5 separate regions of the Homo sapiens genome follow, and regions 1, 3, 4 and 5 are each linked to region 2. The links are contacts of gene promoters, found by promoter capture Hi-C in blood cells and fetal thymus (Javierre and others, 2016). All regions are on one chromosome and are shown on one strand. Each heading gives the region's core, a stretch centred on a gene start or on the middle of the fragment in contact. The rest is flanking DNA. Distances are from core to core; before and after follow the strand shown. Region 1 overlaps LINC02943 (long intergenic non-protein coding RNA 2943). Region 2 holds the start of ETS2 (ETS proto-oncogene 2, transcription factor). Region 3 has its middle 34 kb from the start of LINC02943. Region 4 has its middle 15 kb from the start of LINC02943. Region 5 overlaps LOC105372802 (a long non-coding RNA gene).

Region 1 (2,700 bases), core at 94-2,593, 270 kb after region 2:
ACATCCTAATGCAGACATGTTGTGCAAACAAGTCTTTTACCTAAGAACTACTGCAGGTGCAGGAATCCAGCACCATGAAGGTTGGAATGGGGAAGTTTACCAGCAGCAGATGGGGCATACCTGATGGAGAAATTCCAAAGAGGGATAATAAGACTCTGCCTGCCTCCTTCATGGAAATATACTCTGAGGTGGAAATGTACACAGTGTTCCCATAAGGGGCTTAGAACCATCATAAATGCATTATGCACAGATACAGCATAAATGTGGGGATGGGGGGTCACAAGTGGCTGGTGCATCAAGGACTCCCAGGCTGTAGGTGACACTCTGGGATGTCATCATACCACTTAGCACCCCCATTATTCTTTTTAATTAAAATGAAATTCACATAATATAAAATTAATCATTTTAAAAGGAACAATTCAGTGGCATTCAGTATATTCACAATGTTGTGCAACCACCACCTCCATCTAGTTCCAGAACATTCCAGCACCCCAAAAGAAAGTCTCATACCCATTAAGCAGCGATTCCCCATTCTCCCTCCCCCATCTCCCACCCTGACCCTTGACAACCACTAATCTGCTTTTTGTCTCTTTGAATGCCCCTATTCTGGGCATTTTATATAAATGGAATCGTACAACATGTGACCTTTTGTATCTGCCTTCTTCGACTTAGCATAATATTTTCGAGATTCATCCAGGTTGTAACGCGTGTCAGTCCTCCATTCTTTTTTATGGCTGAATAATGGTCCAATATATGAAAAGACTACATTTTGTTTAACCATGCCTCCAATAACGGACATCTGAGTTGCTTCCACTTTTTAGCTATCGTGAATAATGCTGCTACAAACATTTGTGTGGAACTATTTCTTGAGTGCTGTTTTCAGCTCTCTTGGATATATACCCAGGAATGGAATTGCATCTTCATCATGATATCCTCTCATTTTTCCAGCCTTTATTCTGAATCTTTTTAGAGGTCAAGGAAAGCAAACTTTTCCTGTAAATAAGCAGATAGTAAATATTTTAGGCTTTGCAAGCCAGGTGGTCTCTGATGCAACTACTCAACTCTGCCTTTGTAGCATGAAGCAACCACAGACAATCCATAAAAAGTTTATTGTTCTTCAATAAAATTTATTCACAAAAACAGACAAAGGGCCAGATTTGGCCCTCAGGCCGTGGTTTGCCAACCCCAGCTCTAGGACAAGCCCAAGTGGATGCAGCCTCTTCCAAGTGCCCCGTTTCACAGGAGAGGCACCTCCTCCAACCTAGCTTTCTATTGCCAGTGAGGATGAGCAAGGGAGACGGACTTAGCCTGTGGCAGAAGAGTTGAGGAACTGCCTTTAAAACTGATTATGAAATATGTGAAATCTTGGGATGTGCTTCTGCTATGAAGAGCAGCATTGTGCTCTCTGTTGATGTTTAAGAGTTAGGCTACCATCTTTCAGGTGGTTTTTGAGAATAAAAGTTTGATGAGTACCTTGACCAATCTCTTGGTGTCCTTTCAAACATTCACCCTTTCTGAGATTTATCAGGGGAGAAAGGGTCGCTCATGCTCAAAAGCTCATTCACCCAACAAGCATTTACTGAGCCTTTACTGTGTGCAGGCACTATACTAAATCCTTGGTATTTAAAATGATGCATTCCTGGAGGTTTTCTTTGGCAAGTTGGCTTGGATACCTCTAGTAATGGGGAGCTCACTACCTACACAGGGCATCCTACCCCATGGCTGCGCAGTTCTTTGCTCCTCAGAAGTACCTAAACCTCACCAGTATGCTTACACACCTCCCTCCCACCAGTCAAATATCAACAGGCACCCCCACCATAAACAGGTACACAGAGAACAGGTGAGGAAATGAGGAAATAGCAAGCAAACAAACAAACAAAGAAACACTGACGGCAACTTTTCTTACTCCTGGTATTTCTAAAAAGCAGAACAAAATCAATTTCACACCCAAGACATCTTGAAATGTTCCCAAACTTGGGCAAAGTTGACAGCTGAATTCTAAGGAGCTGCTTCCCATTAAGAAGAGGATATTAGGAAAGAAAATTATCAGAACTCTTTGTTTAAACTATGGTCTCAGCCAGGCACAGTGACTCAGGCCTATAATCCCAGAACTTTGTGGGGCCAAAACGGGCAGATTGCTTGAGCCCAGGAGTTAAAGACCAGCCTGGGCAATGTACCGAGATCCCATCTCTACAAAAACTTAAAAACTTAGCTGGACATGATGGGGTGAACCTGTGGTACCAGCAGCTACTCAGGAGGCTAAGGAGGGAGGATCGCTTGAGCCCAGGAGGTCAAGCCTGCAGTGAGCCATGACTGCACCACTGCACTCCAGCCTGGGCAACAGAACACAGTGAGACCCTCTCTCAAAAAACAAAAACAAACAAATAACCTTGTCTCCAGAAGAGGCAAATGAGAGGCAGGACAGCACAGAGACGGAAAACTCAGGTCTTGGGGCCTGGCAGGTCTGGGTTTGAAGGCCGCTCTTTCCCCCTTTAGCTGAGGGACCTGGTGCATGTCATTTCTTAGAGGAGGCTGAGTTTCCTCAACTGTAAAACCCGGTTAGAATAGTACCAGTTTCATAGGATGGCTGTGGGATGGAATGAGACACGCCATCTGTAGTGGTCACACAGAGCCACGAGCTATTAGTAAGTCAGTTGGCCTTCCCACCTGGCCACTCTCTTGCGGCTAAACAGAAGAAGG
Region 2 (2,700 bases), core at 78-2,577:
AGATTCTGACTGTGACTCATGCCACGGTGATACCCGGAGACCTTCGGGGACCCAGAAACATTAAGGTGCACCGATATCTCAATTATCCGGATAACTCTAGACCTAGAGTCACCATGGAAACCTAGAACCCTGAGTCACAGAGAAGCTGGGCCATTCCTCTCCCTTCCCGGTGGTGCCGCAGTTCTTGAGATGTGAGCAGCTTTCAGCCCCGTGGCCTCGCCTAAGCTGGGGTTTCCTATTTCATCCACAACTTCAGGAATCTAAACTTTCCTGCAAAATATTGAGCATGTGACCTGAGTCCAAACAGCCATGGACTCAAGCACCTTCTGATAAAAACGGAAACCACAGTGTAGGGGGTGGTTTTGACCAGGGTTTCGGAGTCAGATAAACTCAGGTTTCCACCTTGAATTTCTCATCAATCTGACGTGGCAGGTTATTCATCCTAAGGTTCAGTTCCCACCTGTGTAAAGTGGGAGCCGCAAGTCCTCCGAGAGTGACGATGATGTGCGTGGAGTGCCCAGCCCAGATTGAAGCGCGGCCAAGGCGGGTCGCTATCTGGGCACCGCTCAGCTCCAGAGGGCGCCACTCCCGCGGAGCCTGCGGGATCGGGGCTTCCCGGGAGCAGCGCGATCAGCACCACGACTCGGGGACACAGCCAGGGCCCGGTTTCTACAGGAAGCGCCTCATTTGGAGCCTTTTTGTGATAGAATGATCATTAGTCCTAAGCCCATTCAGAGGTTCAAGAATGGGGTCGGCTCAATTTCAGGGCCTTATTACCCAAGCCCGGCTGCCCTTCGGTGCCACCAGCACCACTGCTCCGTCGCTGCGGAATTCCAAAGGCAGGTTTGGCGTTAGGGCCTTGGCCCCAGAGAGGACGCCGAGCGCTCCACGGAAAGTCTCCGCCCGGCTCCCAGGGCGCACACTCGCGCGCACGTGGGGCCGAGGCCCTGCTCCCGGGGCCTCAGGGCCAGCCGGCGAGGGACCCAGCCGAGTGACAGCAGGAGGCGGAGGGAAGGTTGGGCCGGAAGGTGTCAGCCCCGCCCCGCGCTCCCTCGCCGCCTCCGCCCTCCTCTTCTCTCCCCTCGTGCGTTCCCTCTCCTCTCCCTCCGCTCCCCCAACCCTCCTGCTGCCCCCTTCCCTCTCCTCCCGCTTCTCCCCATCCTGCCTACCTCCCTTCCCCTCCTCTTCTCTCTCCTCCCCTTCCCTCCCCTCTCTCTTCTCTCCTCCCTCGTTTCCTCCCCTCCCCTCCACTCGGCCGTCCCTCCTTCCTCCTCCCTCCTCCCTCCTCCTCCCGCTCCTGAAGAGCGCGCCGCGTGGGGGACGGCCCGGTTACTTCCTCCAGAGACTGACGAGTGCGGTGTCGCTCCAGCTCAGAGCTCCCGGAGCCGCCCGGCCAGCGTCCGGCCTCCCTGATCGTCTCTGGCCGGCGCCCTCGCCCTCGCCCGGCGCGCACCGAGCAGCCGCGGGCGCCGAGCAGCCACCGTCCCGACCAAGCGCCGGCCCTGCCCGCAGCGGCAGGGTAAGAGCTGGGCCCGCAGAGAGCGCCCGGCGCGCGGCTCCAGTCCCATGGAGGGTCACCCGGGGCCTGGGCGGGGGTCGCGGGGGGCACTGACACGCAGATCTCGGGGCGCTGCCGGGGGTGCAGGTGGGGGTGGCGGCTGCTGCGAGGACTCTAGGGGCGCGCGTCTGAGTTCCGCGCCGGCTCGTTTTCCGGTTATGGAGTGGCCTCCGGGGCTGGCGGGGTCGGCCGGGGGGTTCCTGCGTGCTAGGGCCGCTGTCTTCGGGGTCGCCTAGCGGCGGGCGCGGCCAGGGCGCGCTGGCTTGTTTCGCTCGCTTTTGTTTTTAAAAGGAAACGCAGGCCTGGTAGGGGGTCCTGCCCAGTGGATGTCCCGGCGAACATGATTTCGCGAACGGGAGTGGGGGCACAGGAGAGCGTGTCCGAGGTGGCCTGGCGCCCCGGCTTTGAGGGTGACTTCCTGGAGCGGCGCCGGGCCCGGAGGATCTGGGGCGCCCAAGACACCTGAAGGCTGCGGCACCGCGGGAACCTGCGGGGCGCGGGGTGCCATGGTCACCTGCTCGCCGCGTCCAGGGCCCGGGCTGGGGACCCCTCGGTCGTGCGAGGAGAGCGTGGGGAACCTGTCGGAAATGAGATCTGGTTGCGCTGGGCTGCCTTTATTTTCTCGTTCCTACAGCATTTGAATGAAGAGGTAACTGAGTGTTTGCTTGTGTGTGTTTGGGTTGCGTGTGTGTTATCCTATTTTATTTTTTACGGCAGGAGACCTTTTATGTTAGCCTGTACACAATTTCAGGGTAGCCTAAAACAGTAGTTGACGCGCTAGTTATTTAGAAAGTAAAGAAATGAGCAGTCCCCTTTGGAGACAGGAGTAATTTATTTTAATTCGCCAGTAAGAGATTATATTTGTTCCATACAATGGAAGCGCCTGTGCGTTATCTGCCTGCCCACACCACCACCAATCAGAGAGATAAATCTCCACGTTAAGCTTTATTAAAATTCTGAGTAGTAGCGCAGCACAGTAAATGTTAGCACCGACCATCCGCAGGGAAATGCTCAGATACTCATTTCTGGGATTAGTCATTCATCTCTCTAAACTGATCGCTTTCAAAGCGAAAAAAGCAAACTACCTTCAAATGTGTGTTACAAGGTTGTGTTGTTTCTTTTTTTTGTTTGTTTTCAAATTT
Region 3 (2,700 bases), core at 43-2,542, 310 kb after region 2:
GCCCTGGTCCCTGCGCTACAGTGTAGGCTGAGCCAGCCTCATGGCCTGTGCAGCATGTCAAAGACAGCATCCCCATTTCGCCCTGCCCTCCCCTCAGCACCACAAAATACACAAGGCCCAGAAGAGGAGTCCAAATGCCTTCTCGCTGTCCCATGTTCACACGGACGCTGCTTAAGGATTTAAGTACATCTCAGAACACAAGAAGCCATGAGTGAGACTCTTGCTTTGTTCAAAAAGCTGTGTGATGTCCACACAAAACGGAAAACAAGTACGGGCTGCCAGCTCCCTGACAGGGACCCCCTCCCCATCCACGGAGATAAAACAAGCAATCACAGAAGTGGCTGGACCTACGAGCCTCTTCATCAGCTGACAAAATAGCTCTGAGGAACCCAGGAGCGTCACTGGGTGTATTGGGCCATTCTTGCATTGCTATAAAGAAATACCTAAGGTTGCATCATTTATAAAGAACAGGTTTAACTAGTTCCCGGTTCTGCAGGCTGTACAAGCATGGCGCAGGGCATCTGCTCAGCTTCTGGGGAGGCCTCAGGGAGCTTTTACTCATGGCAGAAGGCGAAGCAAGGGCAGGCATGTCACATGGCTAGAACAGGAGCAAGAGAAAGAATGGAGGGGAGGTGTCGCACACTTTTAAACAACCAGATCTCCCAAGCACTCACTATCACGAGGACAAGACCAAGGAGATGGCACTAAACCACTCATGAGAAATCCGCCCGCATGATCCAACCACCTCCCACCAAGCCCCGCCTCCGACAGTGGGGATTGCAATTCAACTCGAGATTTACAGGAGACGACATCCAAACTATTCTGCTGGGGGTGGTGTGCATAGCAGGGAAGGAAGGTAGCGTGGATGCAGAGGTCCCAGCAGGGTCTCGGATGGGGTTGGAAAGGCCTGTTCTCTCCCCTAGGAGTAGCCAGGACAGACCAGGCCTGGATGGGACCTGGAAGACACCTCCTGGTTCCCATTACATTTGCATTGCTCAGCCAAAGACCACAGGCTGGGCAGGGACCTCAGGGTTCTCAGGACCCCATAAAAGAGAAGGCGGAGGAGGAAACAACCTCTGTGCACACCCACAGATGGGGCCTCGGCCAGCATCCAGGCCAGCCCCGCCATGGGGAGGCGGCTTCAGTGCCAGTCAGGGTGACTCCCAGCAGCTCTGGAGCCAGGCCCTGGTAGACCCCTGAGCAAAGGCTGCCCTCCCCGGCCCTACCCAGGGAAATGGGTGGAGGGTGGCTTCCCCACAGAGAGAAGTACCTGGAACAAAAAGGGATTGAGGGACAGGGGCTGTGGGCCCTGTACACACTAGAACCTGCTGTCTTCCTGAAACTCACCCGAGGGACCCCACATTAGGCCTAGTCTTTTACCCAATACCCAGGGAGACAATTCCAGCTACACCCCTCAATCATCCCAGCAGAATCACGGTCAAGCCCGCAGGGAGGTGACCAGGAGCACAGTCCCTAGTGAGAGGAAAGAGCCACAGAATCACCTTTTCCTGAGGAAACAGAACCAAGCTAGGGCAGCGAAAATCCATAGTGAACACGAGCGACGCCCCCAGTGCGAGAACAGAGGATTTGGGAAACACAAAGCAGAAGCAAACAGAAAGAAGAAACACTTGCTGATGCTAGATATGAAACAGAATTGATGAAATAAAGGACAGGAGGGATGGGCTAAGAAGCAGGACAGACCCATTGAAGAGTGCACTGGGGGGTGGGGCGCGGTGGCTCACGCCTGTAATCACAGCACTTTGGGAGGTCGAGGCTGGCGGATCATCTGAGGTCAGGAGTTTGAGACCAGCCTGGTCAACATGGTGAAACCCCATCTCTACTAAAAATACAAAAATTAGCTGGGCGTGGTGGTGGGCGCCTATAATCCCAGCTACTCGGGAGGCTGAGGCAGGAGAATCACTTGAACCAGGGAGGTGGAGGTTGCAGCGAGCTGAGATCATGCCACTGCACTCCAGCCTGGGTGACAGACCAAGACTCCATCTCAAAAAAAAAAAAAAAAAGAGTGCACTGGGGGTCCGGGGTCAGGAAGGGAGGAGAAGCCGAAAGGGCAGAACAGTCAGGTGAGGCAGAGAACAAGAGGGGCGGCAACAGCTCCCTAAAGGGAGAGAGAAGCGGAAAAAGGGCACGGGGGAGAGGTTGCTCAAGAAACAATAACTGAAAGTCTCCCAAAACTAAAATGAAAAAGTCACATGCATTTATAAATCCTCAGACTGACAGGATTCATGGGGCAGTGAACAGGACAGGCAGAACCCACGCCAGCCAGGCAGCAGGAAGGAAGAGCAAAGAAAAACATGAGAGGTTATATCTTCCAGGAGAAAAAGTCGGTGACCTGCTGGATTTGTCTCCTAGGTCTTCCAGAACAAAATGTGGCACTACAAATGGGTGACTTAAAACAGCAAAAATGCATTCTGTCATGGTTCTGGAGGCTACGAATGCAAAATCAAGATACCAGCAGGGCCACGCTCCCTCGGAAAGCTCTAGGAGAGATTCCATTCTATGCCCCTCGTAGCTTCTGGTTTTGCCACTGTCCTCAACTTGTAGACACAACACTCCCAGCTTCTGCCTCCCTGCTCATACAGCCTTCCCCCTGAGTGTCTGCATCTCTGTGTCTCTTCCCCTCTTCTTAGAGGGACATCAATATGTTGGATTAGGGACCCAGCCTACTCCAGTAGGACCTCA
Region 4 (2,700 bases), core at 110-2,609, 290 kb after region 2:
CCTCCTAATTACAGTGTCTGCGCTAACCACTCCAGGATGGTCCCTGCATAACTGGGGTGAAAATCTAATATAACACTGTCTGGAGATCTTCCACATTCACCTAAGCCGGGGTGCAGGAATTAAAGTGTCTCTGACATTATGCTCCCGTCCCATCTCCTGCACACTGATTTGCAAAGTGAAAATGATCCTCAGTACAAAACCTGTCTCCATCTGCAACCTGCGAGAAACATCAAAAGAGGCAGGGCGACAGCCTGAAGGTTCCCCGAAGTCCTGCGGAGGAAAAGGAGAGCTTCTCAGGGAGAGGCAGCCAGGCGGCCAGCACAGGCACAGCGTGGCGTAGAATTTTTAAGTCCCTCTTTGGCGCGTCTTCTCTACAAAGCCTAACTCTCAATCCGTGTTATAACATCCTCACATTACTGTTCCCACCTTGGGTTCTCAGAAGTCTGTCAATGCTGGTACATGATGGAGACTAGAGTCTCTGATTAGAGGCCAACGCAGCACACATTTGCCCCAAATTGTCCTTGGGGTTTCCAGCAGCAGCCCCTGCATAATGATGCTTGGTGTAAACTGACCCAGCCCCACACAGGAAGGCTTTGTGTGTCAGTTACCCCTAGGAAAAGGACAGGGTCAAAAGTCATCCCAAGAGGAAATCTGGCCCCAGCACCCAAGGCCTCCTCTCTCTGTCTCCAGGAAACTCTCGTCTAACAAATCAGATATTAGCACCATGAACCCTGAGTGCCACTTAACCTCTGAACTTATCAAACAACACCAGCAAACAGCCATTTACTCCTAGGTTACCCAAGGGTATCTAAAAGAGAAAAAAGGAATGAAGGAACAGCTTTTTAGGATCTTGGTGGACATTTTATGGGCATATTTACTTGTTGTTGGCGTCTTTACAGCTTTTCCCTAAAGACTATCATTATGGTAACAGATGGCTTCATCTTTAACTGCTCAGTAAATAAAAGGGCTTTAAATTTTTTTTATTAATCTCTTTTAGGTTTCATCTCAATTATCTTAGGGGAAAAAAGGTCTCTATTGCATTGACTAGGTCTTCTTAAACAGATTAATTGGCTATGATAAATTTTTCAAAGTTAGACTCAAAATTCACAGAACATGTAATCCTAGCCAGAGCAATTGGTGGCTTTCTGGAAAGGGACCTGCCTGACTTTCTCAGAGGCTCTCAGAATTTGCCATTACACTTTTTTGCTTTTATAGGGAGGGGAAGTGACAAGTCTTCTACCACCTGCAAAGAACTGCTTTCCTTGGTAACCTGGGGATGCGTCCGCCCCTCGGTGGATCCATCGGAAGGAAGTGCCCTGTCTCAGTGTGCAGGATGATGCAGAATTCTTTTGCCTGCCTAGAGCACCTAGCAAGGGCCAGGCTTTCCCTCTTTCATTCTTTTCTTCATTAATGCATCCAGCAAGATTTATTGAGGGCTTATCTTTGCCAAGCACTGTGCTAGGTGCTCTGAATACAGTAGTGGCCTTCACAAAGTCCCTGCCCTCATGGAGCTCACATGCTACTGACACAGACCAAATAATACATAAATACAGGGGTCTCCACCCACTGGGCCACAGCCTGGTACTGGTCTGTGGCCTGTTAGGAACAGGGCCACACAGGAGGAGGTGAGCAGCAGGTAAGCGAGCACTACTGCATAAGCTCCACCTCCTGTCAGATCAGCAGCACACGATTCTCATAGGAGCGCAAACTCCATTGTGAACTGTGCAGGCGAGGGATCTAGTTGCATGCTCCTTATGAGAATCTAATGCCTGATGATCTGAGATGGAGCTGAGGTAGTGATGCTAGTGCTGGGGAGCAGCTGCACATACAGACTTTTGTTAGCCAAGAGGTTTGACTGCACAGAGACCATAATAAGTCAACTGCTTTCAGACTCATAACAAAACCCTCTCAGTGAGTGGCAAGACACAATTAAGCTGCAGGCTTCATGGTGGCAAGTGAGCTTCAGTTGTACAGCTGCATCAAGTGGCAATAAAGGTAGGTCTGAGACAACTTCCCATCTCCATACATTCTGGATTAAAGTCAAGGCAGAATATCCTGCGGTTGCCAGAAAAGCACTGGAAAGCCTGCTTCCATTTCCAACATCCTATCTTTGTGAAGCAGGGTTTTCTGCAGTGACAGCAACCAAAACGAGATCACAAAGTAGACTGGACATAAGCACCACACTTCAGGTGTTACTGTCTCCATCACCCCCAGATGGAACCAGCTAGTTGCAGGAAAACGAGCTCAGGGATCCCACTAATTCTACATTATGGTGAGTTGTATAATTGTTTTATTATATATATTACAATGTAATAATAATAGAAATAAAGGGCATAAGAAATGGAATGCACTTGAATCATCCCAAAACCATCCCCCACGCCGTGGAAAAACTGTCTTCCATGAAACCACCCTCTGGTGCCAAGAAGGTTGGGGACCACTGCATAAATACACCTGGAATATCACATCAGGTAGGGAAGAAAAATAATGCCATGAAAGGAGACAGATAGAGTCCTGGGCAGGTTGAGGGTCAGCAAAGAAACCTTTCTGAGGACCCTGAATTTGAGCAGAGACCTGAATGAAGCGAGGGAGGAAGCCAAATAAATATCTGGGAAGATTTTTCTAGACCAAGGAAACAGCAGTCCTGACCAGGAAATAAGGTTGTTGCATTAAAGGAGCATCCAATAAAGGTTAAAGAAACAA
Region 5 (2,700 bases), core at 114-2,613, 290 kb before region 2:
TTCGAGCTTTTCATCAGGAATGGAAAGCATTAATGCGTCTCACACGTCACTCTCTGTTTCATGGAATTCTTACACTGGGGAGCTCTTTTTATTTTACTATTTTTCTTTAACAGCCAGAACACTGAGAAGTTTGCAAAGAAATTTTTCAGCTGCCTTTAGTGACCCTTAACTCAAGAGGTTTTGCCTAATCTGTAAATTGGAGTTGAAAATATTTCAGTACTTTTGGAGTGGGGAGCTTTTTGTCTTTAAAAGAGTGGAACGACACTAACAATAGGGCTATACATACCTTGTGCTTCTTTGTCAGTTACTGCAAACCAAAACCAGATGTGAAGTATCAGCGGCTACCTCGTAGTGACCCATGGAAGTTGAGGCTAATCCATATCATTCTTAATAACTCAAAACTGCCACCTTTTAACCACCTAATTTTTTTCTCACTTACAAATGCAAAAAAAGGAATTGACAGTACACATTGAAATCGATTTTCCCCTGACCACTTACAGATTTTCTCCTATAAGAGCCAGGAATAAAAGCTCACTCCATTATATCAAGCAGCCATCATCTGAGTATGCTTTAGTTTAGGTGATCATCACCTTTAACAAACCAAGATCTGGAAGGAAGATTTCTGATCTTTAACAAACCAAGATTTGAAAACTAGATATTCCTGTCATGACCTTTTCCCAACATTCAGTATGTAAGGGATTCACTGGATTATTAGACTGCTTGTAAATGTAAGAAAACATAGAAGGTTTAGTGTGAAGGAGTTAGCAACCTAACAAATGTTTCCCCCTGAATTTTCAATAACCTTCCTGAATTTAAAGGTAATGAATATAAATGAAGAACAAAATCAATAGATATAGGAATGATTCACAACCTCCCAAATGAATAAATCAATCATTCCACCCTACATTTGAACATTCAATCAATATTTTGTCTATTTACTAAATCTAAGAGGAACTACTTTAACATAAAACTAAATATGAAATTATTTCCAGCATTGAATATTGTGTTTTGCCTTAGAGCAGGCACAAAGTGGAATGCCTATGGGTACAAAGCTAGGCATTGATTGATGTTTAATACCTACAAATACAGCAATTACACTGTCATGCTACACGAGACTTCCTATTCCTACACTGAAATTAGACTGCACATATGTAGGGATAAAAGATAAGACACAATCATATCATATTTCCTCAAATCTAAGACTTTGGGTGGTAAGATGTAAAGCACATCATGATTTAAAGTATCACTAGGAAAGAAAAAACAATTCTGCCAATGAAAATTCACCGTAATACTTTCTAATCAATCAATTTTAAGATACATCCCAATTTTTAAGCAAGAATAAATGTGTTAAAATTAACACAAATTGGTACACTTGTGATACAACAGAAGCACTAAAATGTCACAGCAATAGACCACAGGGTTTCTCAACCTTGGCAGCATCAACATTTTGGGTTGGTTAATTATCTGTTGTGGGGGCTGCCCTGTGCATGGCAGGATGTTTGCTAGCATTCCTGGCCTCTACCCACTAGATGCCAGTAACACCTCGCAGACTCCAATTATGACAACCAAAACTGTCTTTAGACATGGCCAACTGTCCCTAAAGGTGCAACCAAAAACTGTCCCAGTTGAGAACCACTGGAACAGAGCAATTCGGTTTTATCAGCCTTGTAATATAATTGTGTGTGTGCACTGTGTGCATGACAGACTGTCAGCCTAATGGAAGGTATATTGTCAGATGGGATAGATTGACCTGAAAAAATCACATAAACCAACAGCTGGTACATATACAAGAGTGTGTCCTGCCCATCCTAACCCACACAATGCAAAAGAACCTGGATGACCACGAGTCACCATCACAGGAGTTTACTATCCATAAGTGTAAACCATCCAAGAAAAGTGAAAACAGATTAAAGAAAATAAAAATAAATAAACCACCACACAATATTTGGGCCTAGCCAGATAACAACAATGAAAAAATGTAATATTTTGAAGTATTGGCAAGAATGTGGAGGAAAAAGCATTGACATTCGTGTATAATGGGAATAAAATAATTTATCCTTTGTCTCCGCAATTGATATTCTAGAAATCTATTTTTTAGAAATACTCACAATAGACAGTTATAAGTACAAAGGATGTCTGCTATTACACTGCTCAGTAACAGTAAAATATGAAAATACACTGTACGTCTTTCAATCAGATATTGAATAATTATACTACACAGTATTAAGAATGAGATAGATATTAATGTACTGCATAGAAAATATTCAAAGTATAATAAGTTTTAGAAAATTATCACATATGTATATTAGCATATGCAGAGAAAACATCTTAAAATACAAATTTCAGTTTTGAGGTTTGGATCATGGAGTAACTGCCCCCTTTTCAAGTCAAACAGTTGAGAAAATTTAGGATAAAACAAGTGTGTGCTACCTTTGTAATCAGATAAAGTATTTTAAAATAATTCACATTATAATATAGAAATACTGAAATGCCAAGAAAATTTAAATATATTAATTAAAACCTACGGGCCAGGCGCAGTGGCTCACGCCTGTAATCCCAGCACTTTGGGAGGCCGAGGCAGGCGGATCATGAGGTCAGGAGATTGAGACCACCCTGGGCAACATGGTGAAACCCTGTCTCTACTAAAAATACAAAAATTAGCTGGGCATGGTGGCGTGTGCCTGTAATCCCAGCTACTCA

Evidence for each region. Contacts are between HindIII fragments. The CHiCAGO score rates a contact against its expected background, and 5 or more counts as called.
Region 1: a fragment that was not itself captured here is called in contact with the fragment with the promoter of ETS2 in region 2 in 7 of 17 cell types (M1 macrophages, M0 macrophages, M2 macrophages and 4 more); the score reaches 16.2 in M1 macrophages.
Region 3: a fragment that was not itself captured here is called in contact with the fragment with the promoter of ETS2 in region 2 in 10 of 17 cell types (megakaryocytes, M0 macrophages, M1 macrophages and 7 more); the score reaches 34.1 in megakaryocytes.
Region 4: a contact is called between a fragment that was not itself captured here and the fragment with the promoter of ETS2 in region 2, in 10 of 17 cell types (M1 macrophages, monocytes, M0 macrophages and 7 more). The highest score is 31.0, in M1 macrophages.
Region 5: a fragment that was not itself captured here is called in contact with the fragment with the promoter of ETS2 in region 2 in 5 of 17 cell types (megakaryocytes, endothelial precursors, M1 macrophages and 2 more); the score reaches 11.4 in megakaryocytes.

The regions. Positions count from the first base shown.
Region 1 is chr21:39,076,838-39,079,537 of GRCh38, forward strand. All of the region lies in intron 3 of LINC02943 (long intergenic non-protein coding RNA 2943), which reads right to left. Among named protein-coding and RNA genes, the nearest start is that of LINC02943, 6.3 kb to the right of the region's middle. The HindIII fragment of the contact is 9,621 bases long and covers 1-2,700 here.
Region 2 is chr21:38,804,602-38,807,301 of GRCh38, forward strand. ETS2 (ETS proto-oncogene 2, transcription factor) reads left to right here and starts at 1,328. Exons shown (of 10, transcript NM_005239.6): 1 at 1,328-1,519. RefSeq lists enhancers at 127-627, 161-300, 481-540, 551-710 and silencers at 821-1,150, 1,171-1,240, 1,431-1,720, 1,831-1,930, 1,951-2,050. The HindIII fragment of the contact is 4,522 bases long and covers 1-2,499 here.
Region 3 is chr21:39,117,681-39,120,380 of GRCh38, forward strand. No RefSeq gene overlaps it. Among named protein-coding and RNA genes, the nearest start is that of LINC02943, 34 kb to the left of the region's middle. The HindIII fragment of the contact is 7,449 bases long and covers 1-2,700 here.
Region 4 is chr21:39,098,252-39,100,951 of GRCh38, forward strand. No RefSeq gene overlaps it. Among named protein-coding and RNA genes, the nearest start is that of LINC02943, 15 kb to the left of the region's middle. The HindIII fragment of the contact is 7,041 bases long and covers 1-2,700 here.
Region 5 is chr21:38,510,325-38,513,024 of GRCh38, forward strand. All of the region lies in intron 1 of LOC105372802 (a long non-coding RNA gene), which reads left to right. It also overlaps a transcript of ERG not described here. Among named protein-coding and RNA genes, the nearest start is that of ERG, 13 kb to the left of the region's middle. The HindIII fragment of the contact is 3,047 bases long and covers 1-2,700 here.